5 separate regions of the Homo sapiens genome follow, and regions 1, 3, 4 and 5 are each linked to region 2. The links are contacts of gene promoters, found by promoter capture Hi-C in blood cells and fetal thymus (Javierre and others, 2016). All regions are on one chromosome and are shown on one strand. The core of a region is centred on a gene start or on the middle of the fragment in contact, and the rest is flanking DNA. Distances in the headings are between cores, read along the strand shown.

Region 1 (2,700 bases), core at 160-2,659, 300 kb before region 2:
GCAATTTCATGAATGACAAGATGGCAGAGTAAGAGATACTGAGAGAGACAAGCACAGGCATGGCCAGTGCCCAGCAGCCACTGCAAGGGGGAGTCACAGCCTGTGTGGCCTGGTCTGCTCCTGTTGGCCCACCCCATTCTCACTGGCTTTCTGACCTTTTGGCTCCTGCTTGCGGCTGGTCTGGCTTGCCCCCTCCAGTGTCAACTGACCCCCCTCTTCCATCCAGGCTGTTGCCTCCCAACTCTGGCCTTTCTTAACCAAGTTCCAGGGTGAGACTCTCAGTTCAGGCGAGTTAAGACTCACCCAAGGAGAGACTTCCTAGGTAGTCAAGGGAAGGAAAGTTTGATTTGGACTAAAAGTAGTAAAAAGATTTCTCAGGTGGCCGGGGGAGTGAATAAGCAGAATATATTCTAAGACGAGAAACCAAACAAAAGTGGTACTAAACTGGGCATACGATGGTTCCAGGGGACTAGAAAACGGCATCTATCCAGACTGAGAAAAACAAAGCATAAAACACGTTTCCTAGGTAAAAACAAATTGGTTTTGTGTGTCTACACTTGCTTAATTTGCAAAATAAGAGCAAAGGCCCGAGAAAGATAAACCTGGGTTTGAGTCCTGACTGTCACTTGCCACTTGTGTGACCTTGGGCATGTTACTGTTTAAGCATCAGTAAAATGGGGATGATAATGCCTATCTCAGAAGGTTGATGTGGGAACTCAATGATATCAGGTACACAAAGCATAGCTCAGGTACTCAGTAACTGTTCGTGTTCTTCTCCTCACCACTCTTAAACTTCTGTCATATGTCTGTGGGGAAGTGTTTTCCCTTGCACTCAAGAAAACTAGCATAAAAGAAAGTGGTTACCCTGGTGACTTCCTCCAAAGAGGTTACAGGAGAAAATGGGGAGGGGAGAGCTTTCTCAAGTCACATCCCCAAGAGGCTGGCGGTAGAGACAGAAAAGAGCTAAGACATTAGCTATCTGTTGTCGAGGCAGCCAACTGCTTATAGCCAGGGAGTTCCTTGAGGCACTGACTATTGCCTTTGAGCAGGGAAATAATTACAATGTCTGGCATCAAGGCCTGTGTAGAATCTTCCACAGATGTTATTCTGTCTCTTGGAAAATATCCACAGTAATAATAAACAACTAAAGCTTCATTTTAAGTTTAAAGTATAAAAACTAGCTGTTTCATAACATAGGGACCAATTCTAACTCCTGACTATTGTGAAATTTTGTAGGGAATTGGAACAAAACTTTGGCTGGTTCTACAGCCAAAACATGTAGGGACTTAAAATTCTAGTTAGAGATAATCACTACTTTAAATGTAGTGCCTCTTCTCCCTCTTTTGTGAGCTGGCAGTCAGAGGCTGGATTAAGGAGATAGGTAAGAGGATTGCTTCATACTAATATGATTGAATTTAACACAGATTCAAAATGCGAGGGAATATAGAGACCTAGCTTCTTTCCTGGTCCTACACTGCCACCGCCCACATGTGCCTTCTCTGTGGGTATTCTTTCTGCCTCTCTTGAAAGCTGCACTGAGTCAAGGCACTAACATACAGCCTGGTTGACTTCAGGACAGGCCGATTAAGACTTCAGCAAAAGTATTTTTATCTAGTCTGTGAAGAATTAGTAGGATGCAACTAGCCTGTATGACATTTAAGAAGCTTCATATAATGAACAGCAAAAGCTTAGTTCTCTAGGCCTAGGTAGGATACCTGCAAAGAAAGAGGCAAATGGTACCAACAATCTATTGAAGTCAAATTAGAAGGCTGCAACAGGGAGTTTATACTAGGAACTTTGCAATATGTATTGAACAACAACTGTGCTGGGCATTATTCTAAGGATTTACATGCATTACCTAACTTAATCCTCCCAATAGCTCTATCTTAGGTACTATTAGTAGCCACATCTTGCAGATGAGTGAGCTGAGACACAGAGAGACTAACGATCTTGTCTACGATCCAGTGCTAGTTAGTGGTGGAAGTGGTCACCAGATCCCCACTCTAGGGACTGCACTTGTGACCATCAACATGAAAATTTTGTTTATTTTGACATATTGGATGGCAGGTCATAGAGACTTATGACAGAGACTTACTAAATTGCTTGATCAAGAAAAGGGCTTGTATGGTATTAAATTTTGTTGACCAATTTTGTTGAACCCCCCAAGCGGCTTACAAGACAGTTCTTATGTGAGACATCTCCACAAACTAAACCTGAACCTGCAGGGTGCAATCAGGAGCCTTGGTAATTCATTCCAGGACTTTTATTGTTCAGACTCAAACAGGACCTGCAGCTCCAGCAGGCAGCATCTGGGCGCTGCTCTCATTCCCTATTGTTCTGACAGCCAGACCTTTGAGGATCTGCAGAGCTGGTGGCCTGATAGGAAGTCACACGATTTCAGAAGAGCCTGCCAGGTTTTGACCATATGAATTATGTGTCTAGTTTCTGAGGCTGCCTCTGGAGTTAACCCCACAGGGGATATCTGAAGTATTCATCGTCTGCCCCAATCATGCTGCGTAGCTGAGGAGGGTGGAGTAAGCTAAAAGCGAATTCTGCCCACAGGGAAGACAACGGATGCCTGGTAACTTGGAGCTAAGCCCACAAATTCCAGAACTCTTTTGAAATTTCTGATTATGTGGCCAAAGTCTGGGAAATGTTTGGGTCTACTTGGCTCTGAGAAAACACATTCTCTTTCAAGAA
Region 2 (2,700 bases), core at 37-2,536:
TATGTAATACTTTACCTACTCAAAACAAAAAAACTTAAAAACTCTTTTAAGCTTTCCTAAATTATAGATCCTGTCTTCAGAAAAATGCACCTACCTATGGAAGCACCAGCATCCCTGTACCTTAGGTTGGGAACGTCACAACCTACATTCAAGGGTTAAATGTTGTGATGTCTGCGATTTACTATTTAAAAATTTCAGTAAAAATGAACCAACCACGTCATAACGTTAAAAACTATTAAAACCAGGCGGGGCGCAGTGGCTCATGCCTGTAATCCCAGCACTCTGAGAGGCCGAGGCGGGAGAATCACTTGAGGTCTGGAGTTCGAGGCGATAGCGAAACCCCGTCTCTTTAAAAAACAAAACAAAACACTATTAAATCTAGATAATGACAGGGTTAGGGAAGTTCGTTATATTACTCTACTTTTCTGATAATAAATTTCAACGACAAAAAGTAAACGAAAATATAAAAGCAGTATCAAAAAAGCCAAACCCGTTTCTGGGCTCCAGCATCCTTCACTTCTCATCACAGCGGATACAAACAAGGTATCCTGAGTCTCACCGTATCTGCTCCATGGCTTCCCACGTCAGGGTCCTGGGCGGGGCACCAGGCGCCTCCATTTGCCTCCGAATTTTCTGGAATCGGATTGCTTGTTTCTGTCGTTTCAGGGTGCTGGGGGAAGAGAACCAATGGCAGAAGCCATGCGTGGAAGCAGAATGGATGTTTGAAGAGCCTCAGGCTAAATCATGGAGCGCCCAGCCCTCTTCTCTTTGATCGCAAGGGCAACCGGGCCATGTTGCCGGCTTAGAGCTGCTCCGTACACCCAGAAAGCTAACACCTAGAACAATAACTGCCTGTAAGCATGCCGAACTCTCTAAACTGATGATGAAATACGTCACTAATGAAGGGACCAGTGGTCCCAGGGGAGCTGAACACCTGACGCTGCGCCCCTAACAACGGGTAAGAAGAAACAAGGGCCGCTGCGCAAGCAGCGGCAGGACACCCGGCGCCAAGGGGGCGCGGCCTGGAGCGCCGGGGCACGAGGCCCTGCTTCAAGCTGAGGGCCCGGGGAGAAGCCGGTACCTCTCCACCTCCTGCAGCTCCCGTTCCTCCGGCTCCCAGTCGGAATCGGGGTCCGGCTCCCGGCCAATAGGGCCTGGGCCCGCCACCCCCCGGGTCGCGAACCCACAGCGAGTGACGGCGGCGCAAACGCGCCCGCCCAGCAAGAGACTCAGGGTAACCGCCATGTCGACGCAAACCAGCCTTCAGCAGTCGGCTACGAAACAGCAGCGGAAGTAGCCGGGTAAGACCGGAAGTGGAAGGGGCGGGCCGGAGGCTGGGTAGTAGCAAGTTATTTCCCGCTTCACTTGGTGGGGGTAAGATCTGGGCTCACGCTGCTCAGTGGCCCACCCTTTCTGCCTGTAACTGTGGAGAGGGCTTCCCTGAAACGTGAGGGCCGAAATGAGGTACAGGACGCTCCTGGAAAACTGCATAAACTTTAATTAAAGTACGGATTCCGTTTCCAAGAGCCGTCCCTCCGCCCCAGCGGCTGCCCAGGCCTGCCTGTCTCCGCCACCTCGGTGGGCAGGGCTTCCGCTCGGCAGTCTTCTGACGGCGACAGCCCAGTGCCTTGGGCACTCGGCTTCTCTGGGAAAGGGGCTCATTGTCTCCTGGATGGCCTCCAGCCCCGGGCCGCACCTAGGGTTCAGACCCATCACCTAGCGATAAACCCAGGCTAAGGCTTGATGAGCAGAAATGAGTACATGGCTGGCCTTGGCGCCTCTTCATCTTCTAGTCTTTACCGATCCCCAATTAATCTTAGGGTATTGAGGAATTCTTGGTGTCTTTGTATTTTGCCTTATACAAATGGGGTTCCTGGGCAGGGCTTTTCAAAGTGGAACTTGGTGGCAGTCATTCATTTAGCAAAGATTTAATGCCCTTTGGAAACCTGGGGAGGTTATCCAGGAGAGGTAGAGTGCTTCCCTCCTGCTTTTACCTGAACTGATTGATGTTGAGGAGTGCTCTGGAACGCTGCAGCATGGGTGCAGACGCAGGGCAGAGGGGAACCTTGGCTGCTCTGTGTTCAGAGTTTACCATGGAGGGCAAGGTGCATTCAGTCCATGAGTCAGATGCCACTCTTTCCGGTTGCAGAAAATAGCCCTGCTTTGGGGTTAAAGTGGGTGGCACTGATCCTGCCAGGACTCGGTTTATGGCTTCTAGCCTTCTGCTGGCTTGTCCTTCTGCAGTGGAAACATGGATGTCCCTGAGTTGGTATTCACAGAAGAGATTTGTTCACCTCTTTCCCAACTGTGGCCCAATTACCAACACAGAGGAAGGGCATCTCATGCTTCCCTCCACTGTCTTTCCCACACTGTATTGTAATTGGTATGGTATGTCTTTTTGTCCATGTTCCTATTACCTCTTGAGTGCTGGGACTGTATTTCTGCCATTTCTATCACCAGGGTCTAGTGTACAGAAAGGATTAAATAGGCCTGGTGCGGTGGCTTACACCTGTAATCCTAGCACTTTGGGAGACTGATTCAGGTGGATCAGGAGTTCAAGACCAGCCTGGGCTACGTGGCAAAAACAAAATATACAAAAGTTAGCCGAGCATGGTGGTGTGTGCCTATAGTCCCAGCTACTCAGGAGGCTGAGTCAGGAGAATTACTTGAGCCCGTGAGTGGAGTTTGCAGTGAAGTGAG
Region 3 (2,700 bases), core at 11-2,510, 410 kb before region 2:
CAGGCTGGTCTTGAACTCCTGACCTCAGGTGATCCTCCCACCTCAGCCTCCCAAAGTTCTGGGATTACAAGTATGAGCCGCCGTGCCCAGCCAGTTCCATTTTCTCTATTGCTGAAGGTCCTAGTGGTCACTCGTCCAACCTCCACATTCCTCAATGGCCCACATCAGATGAGTCAGTTCCTTCATCAGTGATGGCAGTGATTGCAGGGAACGCTCAGCCTCCTTGGCTCTGATTCTGCCTTACCAGAAGGGAGCCCTTCTGACTTGACCTCGTGGGTGCCATCGAGTGTGGTTCCAGCTCCGCATGTTCCTGACTACTCCTGCACAAGTCTGGGAGGTGAGGGATGTGGGAGGCGCAGCTCTCAGAGCCTCTTACAGAAACAACCAGCCTGGTGCTGCGGTGGCAAGAAACAGACACTGACCCCCGACCCCAAGGGAAATTCACAAGAAGGCTATGGAGTCCCTCACAACATGGAAGGGGAAATTGAAGAGCCTGGTCTGGAAAAGACAGAAAACAGGGAGGCCGTGGGGACCTAGAAGCTGGAACCAACTGAGAGTCTCATCTGGCCACACTGTAAAGATGTGTCAGCCCCAACCTCTTCTTGGCTTTTGCTTCCTCCATTCAAGGGTCAGAGTCTGAGTGCCTAGGTGGGCCCAGAGCCTTCCCTCTCCAGCCTCCCTGCTGCCCCAGAGAGGACAAACACCATTTCTGACTCCCCTACATACTCAGAGTGCATTCTCAGGATCACAGTAGAGGAAGGACTGAGAAAATAAGTGCTCATGAGGCTGATGGGCTGCCTTAGCTTTATCAGCAGCAGAAGAATTCTGGGATGCTCACCTCCCAGAAGACCCTCCACAGTTCCCAAGAGCCTCTTCATCCATAATGAGGGTGACAAAACTTCTCTGAGTCACAGACAGCTTTGAGACTGGGATGGAAACAGAGGATTGCATAAGTTTCAGGGGGCTGCTGGACCCCCATTCCTGAATCCTAACTCTGGGACACCTTCTCCAGCCCGTGTCTGCCTGGCTTAGCTGCAGGCCTCATACACTGTCTCCCTAGGACCTGCAGTTGAACCATTCCATGCTCACGGACACGTGGATTACATGAGCAGGGCCCTAGGCCTCCTCCTAACCTCAGATTTTTTTTTTTTTTTTTCTAAAAGGGCAAGGCACTATTTTAGTCACTGTTTTGCAGGGAGAAAAAAATCCTGTTTATCCTTATGATTCATTTTGGTGGTTTTTGGATAATGTTGTATTGATTCATGACGACTCACTCAGCATCTGGTATGAATTAAATGAGACTTTCTCTTTTTGACAGTAAAATGAAAGATCTTAAACAACGCTAACATTAAAAAGAGGCCTGGAGGGAATACAAGAGTTGGAGCAATCCTGGGGACTTGAGTCAGTTCAGTGGGATGCCCTACCACCTTGGCAAAGCCAGCACAGTGCCATGCAGTTCCAGGGCAGTGCTGCTTGTGACCTTATGTCTGCTCCTCATGAGTACCACGATGACTCCTTGCAGGTCCCATTGCTTCCCACCATATGCTGTTTTATCTTGTAGTCATGATCCCAACTGGACAAATGGGGAAACAGAGGCAGGAAGCTGGCATGGATGTGACATCAGGAGTCAGATTTTCTCTGGTTTGTTCCAGGAAGTTTTCCGTAGAATCCCAGAGGACATCCAGTGATTCTTAACGGGGGATGATTTTGGCACCCCCAGGGGTATTGGGCAATGTCTGGAGGCATTTTGGTTGCCACAACTAGGGAGGTGCTACTGGCATCTACCTGCAGTGTCAGAACAGCCTCCAAAGAACAAAATGATCCAGCCCACATGTCAATAGTGCCGAAGTTGAGAAACCCTGCTCTAACCCAAAGGGACTCCAAATCCCAAGTGATGTGGTGGTTGTCAGGGCATTAGCAGACTTAATGCAAAGGCCTCTCAATATGGCAAAACAGATTGTCTGAAAAATTATGTAATTTTTGTGTTTAAAAAGAGTAGAACCTGGGCAACATAGCAAGACCTTGTCTACAAACATATTCAGGCTGAGAAAATGAAAAATAAAAAAAGACCCTGTCTTGGCCGGGTACGGTGGCTCACGCCTGTAATCCCAGCACTTTGGGAGACGGAGGCAGGTGGATCACAAGGTCAGGAGTTCAAGACCAGCCTGGCCAGTATGGTGAAACCCTGTCTCTACTAAAAATACAAAAATTAGCTGGGCGTGGTGGCACGTGCCTGTAGTCCCAGCTACTCAGGAGGCTGAGGCAGGAGAATCACTTGAACCTGAGAGGCGGAGGTTGCAATGAGCCGAGATCGTGCCACTGCACTCCAGCCTGGGCAACAGAGTGAGATCTGTCTCAAAACAAAAGACCCTGTCTTTACGAAAACAAACAAACAAACAACAACAAATATATATAGAGAGAGACAGAGAGAGAGTGTCAGGTATGGTGGTATGTGCCTGTGGTCCCAGCTGCTCAGGTGACTGAAGCTAGTGGATCCCTTGAGCCCAGGAGTTCAAGGCTGTTGTAAGTCGTGACTGCCATGCACTCCAGCCAAGGAGACAGTGAGATCCTGTCTCAAAAAAAAAAAAAAAAAAAAAAAGTATATATCTTGCCTAGATCATGGTCTCTGTATGTCATTCTCTGCTAAAAGAAACTAGGGCTCCTGCCAAATGGCCAGTCCAAGGTTGGGGCAGCTGAACA
Region 4 (2,847 bases), core at 232-2,731, 350 kb before region 2:
TTAATTGTCGTCTCAGGAGACTCTATTGCAGAAGGTCCTTGGCCCATTCTTACTTATCAGCCATTTAACCCATCAAAAGACAGGCAGTGTGAACAGGTGAACACTGAGGTGCAGAGAGAGAAAAGCTGTGGAAGCTGTGGCTCTACAACCAGCAACGTCAAAAGGACAGGAGTTGCGGATTCCTATTTTGGCTTTCCTGAGACCCTCATATTAAGAAAGGGCAGGGAACTTCATTCTGATTACTAAAAAGTGACTATCCTGTTAAAAACTAAAAACTAGGTTTTATATAGCAATCTGGTATGGCGTGCTGAAGCATCTCTTCATCATCAAGACACCAGTCACTCGAGGTTTAATTATTAAGCCTGACCTGTCCCTGAAACATGAGGACTCAACTGAGGGCTACCATGTGAAACTGCCTGAGTGGCTGGCAGATACCCCATGTGACAGCCCCATTAGTGCATGCTCTCCTCAGACTGGAACAGAAGGAAGGCTTCATGGAGTAGGTGGCACCTGAGGCGCCATTCATTGAAGGATAATGGTGAAGAAGAGGATAACCAACAGCCAACCTGACTGCTCACTTACTATGTGCCAGGCGCTTTACACAGGTGATCTCATGGGATCCCCACAGCAACTCTGCGACGTAGATGCTATTATCATCCCCAAGATCACACTGCTAGTAAGTTCTGGGACTAGAACTCTGGCCCGTGTGTCTTCAGAATGTTCATGTCCCTAACCAATTTGCTGTAGTACCTGGAAGATTTAGACAACCGGAAGCGAAGCTGAAGGGGATGCCCAGTGTGAGGAGGAGGCAGAGGCGGAGGAGGAGGCGGAGGAGGAGGAGGAGGTGGAGGCGGAGGAGGAGGAGGAGGAGGAGGAGGAGGAGTGGGGGGTGGTTGGGGAAGGATAAGAAGGAGAAGGAAGATGGAAGAGTGTGGCTGCAGCACATGGTGGGAGGACTGGGAGATGGGCTGGACCGAAGCAGGCTGCTGGTCATTTGGCAGGATGTAGGGGATGGAAGGTTTCAGTTGGAGAAGTGACATGATCAGAGTTAAGCTTCAGAGACTGCTCTTGCAGCAGAGTAGGAGGTGGATTGAAAGGAGAAAGCCTTAAGGCAGGGAGGCCGACTAGAAAACCAATGCAATAGTCCAAGGCAAACAGGAACCAAGTAGGATACTGGCAGTGAGGACAGAAAACCAGAGGCAGATTTGAGACATACTGCTGGGATAAAATGAACAGGACTCGGCTACTGAATGGGCGTAGGGGCATGGGAATGGGAGTAATCAGATGCAACTCTCAGGGTCTGGGCTGCGGTGACCAGAAGGATGGTGGTGGCAATGACTGATATACTGGCACCAAGCTAACATATCATCAAAATATCCAAGCCTGGATTTTTACTGCTAAATTAAAAACCCACAAGATAGCACTACAAATAAAGGGTTAAAAAGAAAAAGGAATGAGTTGTGACTGGCTCTCTGGAAACAGGACACTAATTTTATCAGTCCCACAGGGATGGGACAGCGATGACCAAGGCTGCAACTGTGTTCCAGGAAACCTCAGAGCCACCGAGGGCCGGTCTCTTCTAACTAAGGGAACCGAGACCATGTTCCTTCTGTGTGCTCCCATGCCTGGCAAATCTAAAATAACTCCCTACACAGCCTTGATTTGCTAAGTAGAAGGGAAGGCAAGGGGAAGACCCCTTAACCATTGTCCTAAAGGAGGCCTCTGGTGTTTCAGCCTCCCCACTCTGGGCCCTCCTGTCCCTGGGTGACACTCTTTTTGCCCCTCTTCAGATCTGGGATGCTTGTACCTGCCACTGTACCCCCGCCCAATCCATGCAATTAACAGGCTTACATCTTTCAAGGTTCTTTGCATTGTAAACCTTCTCCTTAACTCTGCAGGTCAAAGCTTATTGGCAGGTGAAAGGTCACCAGGTCCAAGGCATGCCAAGCCCCCTCCACGCTAAGGAGCTGAGTACTGTGGTCCCCAAAGATGGCAATATTCAGCATCTACAGCCCTGGATGCAGAGAAGACACCTATTACGCACTCTGCTCCCCTTAGCTCTAGACTGTTCCCTGAAAGGAAGAGACCACCCCAGTCCCTCCTCCACATGCCCGATGTCAGGAGGGGTGTTAGGAGACAGTCCTAGGCTATGGGACAGGGCACGTGTCCCACAGAGTCCTGTGCTTCCCTATCTGCATGTAAGTGTGAAATGGTCATTAAGGTGCACATGCTGCCAGGGAAATGGCCAACATTCCCTCTTTATAGATTCTGAATAATTAAACAAAAAGAGAGAAATTATAAAAATCCTGTTTGGTTCCATAAAAATTTATTTCTGTCATTTATACCAACTGCTTATCATTTATGCCTAATTGTCATGGAACTCAATAGCTATTATGAAAATTACTCAACATGTATCAGGCTTTGTCTTCTTGTGACACAAATCTCCACTCATGAATGTATCATAGTTTATTGCTCATGTAGTTAAGCCGTGAGCAGATGCTCTCCTCATGGGCTCACAGCAACAGCAACAACAATAACAAAAAAGTGTGGCTGCATCATTCTGCCTAGGAGAGATTCCCAGGGAAAGAAGAGTTATTATTGCTTCGAACATAGAACCCAGTTCTGGGCTTCAATTATATTTTCCCATCACTGTTTAAATCTTTCTTTGGTTGGTCCTATAAGAAATACCTTTTTGCAAAGCCAGTTGATAGTTTTAAAATCCAAAAGGAAAGAAAATGAAAAACTTTAATGAAACACAGGAGGAAAATACATGAAACTATTTAAAATAGCTCCCACCAACAAATATAATTCTCCAGAAATAATTTCCATCCTTGGAGACTTGAATAA
Region 5 (2,714 bases), core at 201-2,700, 490 kb after region 2:
CATCCCAAAGTGCTGGGATTACAGGCGTGAGCCACCATGCCTGGCCTCAGTACTCATTTTATTGAGCACTTACTATGTGCCAAGTATTAAAACCCTGAGAGGTAGGTCTATTATTGTCTCCACTTCACAGTTGAAGAAACTGAGGCTCAGGGAGGTTCCAAAGCTTATCTGTCAGTCTCACTTGGTTACACAGCAAGTAAGAGCCGAGTAGAATGCGCAACCTGGGCCCCAATGCTGTGTGTCTACTCTAACCTTGCCTGGATTTTTCTCATCCTTCCAGCTGTGGCTGACAGCCCCTCGGGACAGCAGGGCCCTAAGGGCAGAACCAGAGCACTTCTGGAAGGTTAGAGGAAGAAGGTACCTCAGCACCACCCAAGATAGTTCCTCCTTTAGGAACTGTGAAAACTGAAGCTCAGAAAGAGTGACTTGCCTGATGCCACAGGGCGTGTCAGAGGCAACGGGCAACCTTGCAGGATGAGAGGGGAAAGCCCCACACGCCAAGAGCTCAAGCCCAGGAAATCAGGCAGCTCATGCTCTGTGCTGCCTCTCCCTTTCTCTCAAGCTGGACTGTTGCAGTGGCCTCCTGCCTGGTTCCATTTCTATGAAGCGGCCGAAGGGACTGAGAGCAGACTTCTTACCAGCTCACCCCCAACTCCCAACCCTCAGTGCTGCCCATCATTCGGGAAACGGAGGCCAAAACCTCATCACCCACCACGTGGAACTCCCCACAAACTTGCCTCCAAGCCCCTTTCCGGCTCTGTTTGCCACTTTTCTCTGTCATCTCTAGACACTAGACGCTTCTGTTTCGACTTGGCTCATGCTGTTGCTCCTGCCTGGACCTCTCTTCCCTCACTCCTCTTGATAAACTCCTGCATATCCTTCAACACCCAGCTCCAAGGTCACCTCTTCTGCACTCTCTCCTCCCTGAGTCAGCAGATACAGAAGGAAGTTACCACCACTGCTGGCTCCCATGCCCACGGGAGCCTTTGCTAATAGATCTTGGCATCCTTTTCCCAAGATCCTGGCAGTGCCTCTTACTCTTAAGACACCGCAATCAAGGCAGCAGGACTAAGGAATCAGGTAACTCAAGAATGAGATGGTACTGCCAACCTCGCCTCCCACCAGGTTACCGCATCCTGGTCCCTAAGCACCTCACACAAACCCCCATCCTTGTGTTTAGGACCTGGGCTCTGATCATTTATTTCCCTGTAATTCACATTAGTTGGGGAATATTTTCTCTCTGGCACCTAACACATGGTGTTATGGGCTGAATTATGTCCCCATAAAATTCCTGTATGGCTGAGCGCAGTGGCTCATGCCTGTAATAGCAGCACTTTGGGAGGCTGAGGCGGCTGAACTGTGTTCCCATAAAATTCCTATGTCTGGCTGGGCGTGGTGGCTCACGCCTGTAATCCCAGCACTTTGGGACGCCTTGGCGGGTGGACCATTGGAGGTTAGGGGTTCAAGACCAGCCTGGCCAACATGGTGAAACCCTGTCTCTACTAAAAGTACAAAAAGTAGCCAGCCATGGTGGCAGGCACCTAGGCCAGCTACTAGGGAAACTGAGGCAGGAGAATCACTTGAGCCTGGGAGGCAGAGGTTGCAGTGAGCTGAGATCATGCCACTGCACTCCAGCCTGGGCGACAGAGTGAGACTCCCTCTCAAAAAAAAAGAAAAAAAAAATTTCCTATGTTTGGCTGGGTGTGGTGGCTCACACCTGTAATCCCAGCACTTTGGGAGGCCGAGGCAGGTGGATCACTTGAGGTCAGGAGTTCGAGACCAGCCTGGCCAACATGGTGAAACCCTGTCTCTACTGAAAATACAAAAATTAGCCGGGCATGGTGGCAGGCATCTGTAATCCCAGCTACTCAGGAGGCTGAGGCAGGAGAATCGCTTGAACCCGGGAGGCAGAGGTTGCAGTGAGCCGAGATTGCACCATTGCACTCCAGCCTGGACGACAGAGCAAGACTCTGTCTCAAAAAAAAAAAAAAAAAAGAAGTTTCTTATGTTTAAGCCCTAACATCCAATACTTCGGAATGTAACTGTGACTGTATTAGAAGAAAGATCCCTAAAAGAGTAAATACAGTTAAATGGGTCCCTTAGGGTAGGTCCTGATCCAACATGACTAGTGCCCTTATAAGAAATCAGGACACAGACAATAGAGACAGATGTGTGACCATGTAGGGGCTCAACGAACAGGCAGTCATCTGCAAGCCACAGAGAGAGGCCCCAGAAGAAACTGAACCTGCCTACACCTTGATCTTGGACTTCTAGCCTCCAGAATTGTGAGAAAATAAATTTCTGTTGTTTAAGCCACCCAGTCTGTGGTTGTTGTTTTTTTAAGTTTTTTGTAGGGACAAGGTCTTGCTATGTTGCCCAGGCTGGTCTCGAATTCCTGGCCTCAAGGGATCCTCCCACCTCAGCCTCTCAAAGTGCTGGGATTACAGGCGTAAGCCACTGCACTCAGCCCGTGGCATTCTAGTATGGCAGCCCTCGCAAACTAATACACTGGGCCTAGCACGTAGGAACCACTCCCAGTATTCTTTGAAGAAAATTTCATGTCATTGTGAAAGAGCCCTAAATGACAGGTCTCTGGGACTGTGGTCTCCCCATTTGGGGCTCCTGTCTGTCTGTCCACAGCTGCATGCACCCACCCCAGCAGTCACCAGGAATGCACCCGAAGAACACAAAAGGGCAGTGGTGATGTGGCTGAG

Evidence for each region. The method cuts DNA at HindIII sites, captures the fragments that hold promoters and counts their contacts. A CHiCAGO score of 5 or more calls a contact.
Region 1: a fragment that was not itself captured here is called in contact with the fragment with the promoter of NGRN in region 2 in 5 of 17 cell types (naive B cells, erythroblasts, total CD8 T cells and 2 more); the score reaches 7.1 in naive B cells.
Region 3: a contact is called between a fragment that was not itself captured here and the fragment with the promoter of NGRN in region 2, in 1 of 17 cell types (monocytes). The highest score is 5.2, in monocytes.
Region 4: a fragment that was not itself captured here is called in contact with the fragment with the promoter of NGRN in region 2 in 1 of 17 cell types (monocytes); the score reaches 5.6 in monocytes.
Region 5: a fragment that was not itself captured here is called in contact with the fragment with the promoter of NGRN in region 2 in 1 of 17 cell types (neutrophils); the score reaches 5.6 in neutrophils.

The regions. Positions count from the first base shown.
Region 1 is chr15:90,560,321-90,563,020 of GRCh38, reverse strand. All of the region lies in intron 2 of CRTC3 (CREB regulated transcription coactivator 3), which reads right to left. Among named protein-coding and RNA genes, the nearest start is that of CRTC3, 32 kb to the right of the region's middle. RefSeq lists an enhancer at 1-140. The HindIII fragment of the contact is 514 bases long and covers 1,153-1,666 here.
Region 2 is chr15:90,264,258-90,266,957 of GRCh38, reverse strand. NGRN (neugrin, neurite outgrowth associated) reads right to left here and starts at 1,286. Exons shown (of 3, transcript NM_001033088.3): 1 at 1,082-1,286; 2 at 560-670. The coding sequence starts at 1,245. It overlaps TTLL13 (tubulin tyrosine ligase like 13), which reads right to left. Exons shown (of 15, transcript NM_001396017.1): 15 at 1,481-2,238. The coding sequence ends at 1,991. It also overlaps a transcript of CIB1 not described here. RefSeq lists enhancers at 332-1,302, 1,096-1,325, 1,686-1,815, 1,303-2,274. The HindIII fragment of the contact is 8,147 bases long and covers 54-2,700 here.
Region 3 is chr15:90,679,202-90,681,901 of GRCh38, reverse strand. All of the region lies in intron 2 of CRTC3-AS1 (CRTC3 antisense RNA 1), which reads left to right. Among named protein-coding and RNA genes, the nearest start is that of LINC01585, 20 kb to the right of the region's middle. The HindIII fragment of the contact is 4,674 bases long and covers 1-2,700 here.
Region 4 is chr15:90,610,063-90,612,909 of GRCh38, reverse strand. The region is part of intron 6 of CRTC3 (CREB regulated transcription coactivator 3); the gene reads right to left. Among named protein-coding and RNA genes, the nearest start is that of LINC01585, 49 kb to the left of the region's middle. The HindIII fragment of the contact is 852 bases long and covers 1,056-1,907 here.
Region 5 is chr15:89,779,007-89,781,720 of GRCh38, reverse strand. No RefSeq gene overlaps it. Among named protein-coding and RNA genes, the nearest start is that of MESP2, 4.0 kb to the right of the region's middle. The HindIII fragment of the contact is 2,570 bases long and covers 166-2,714 here.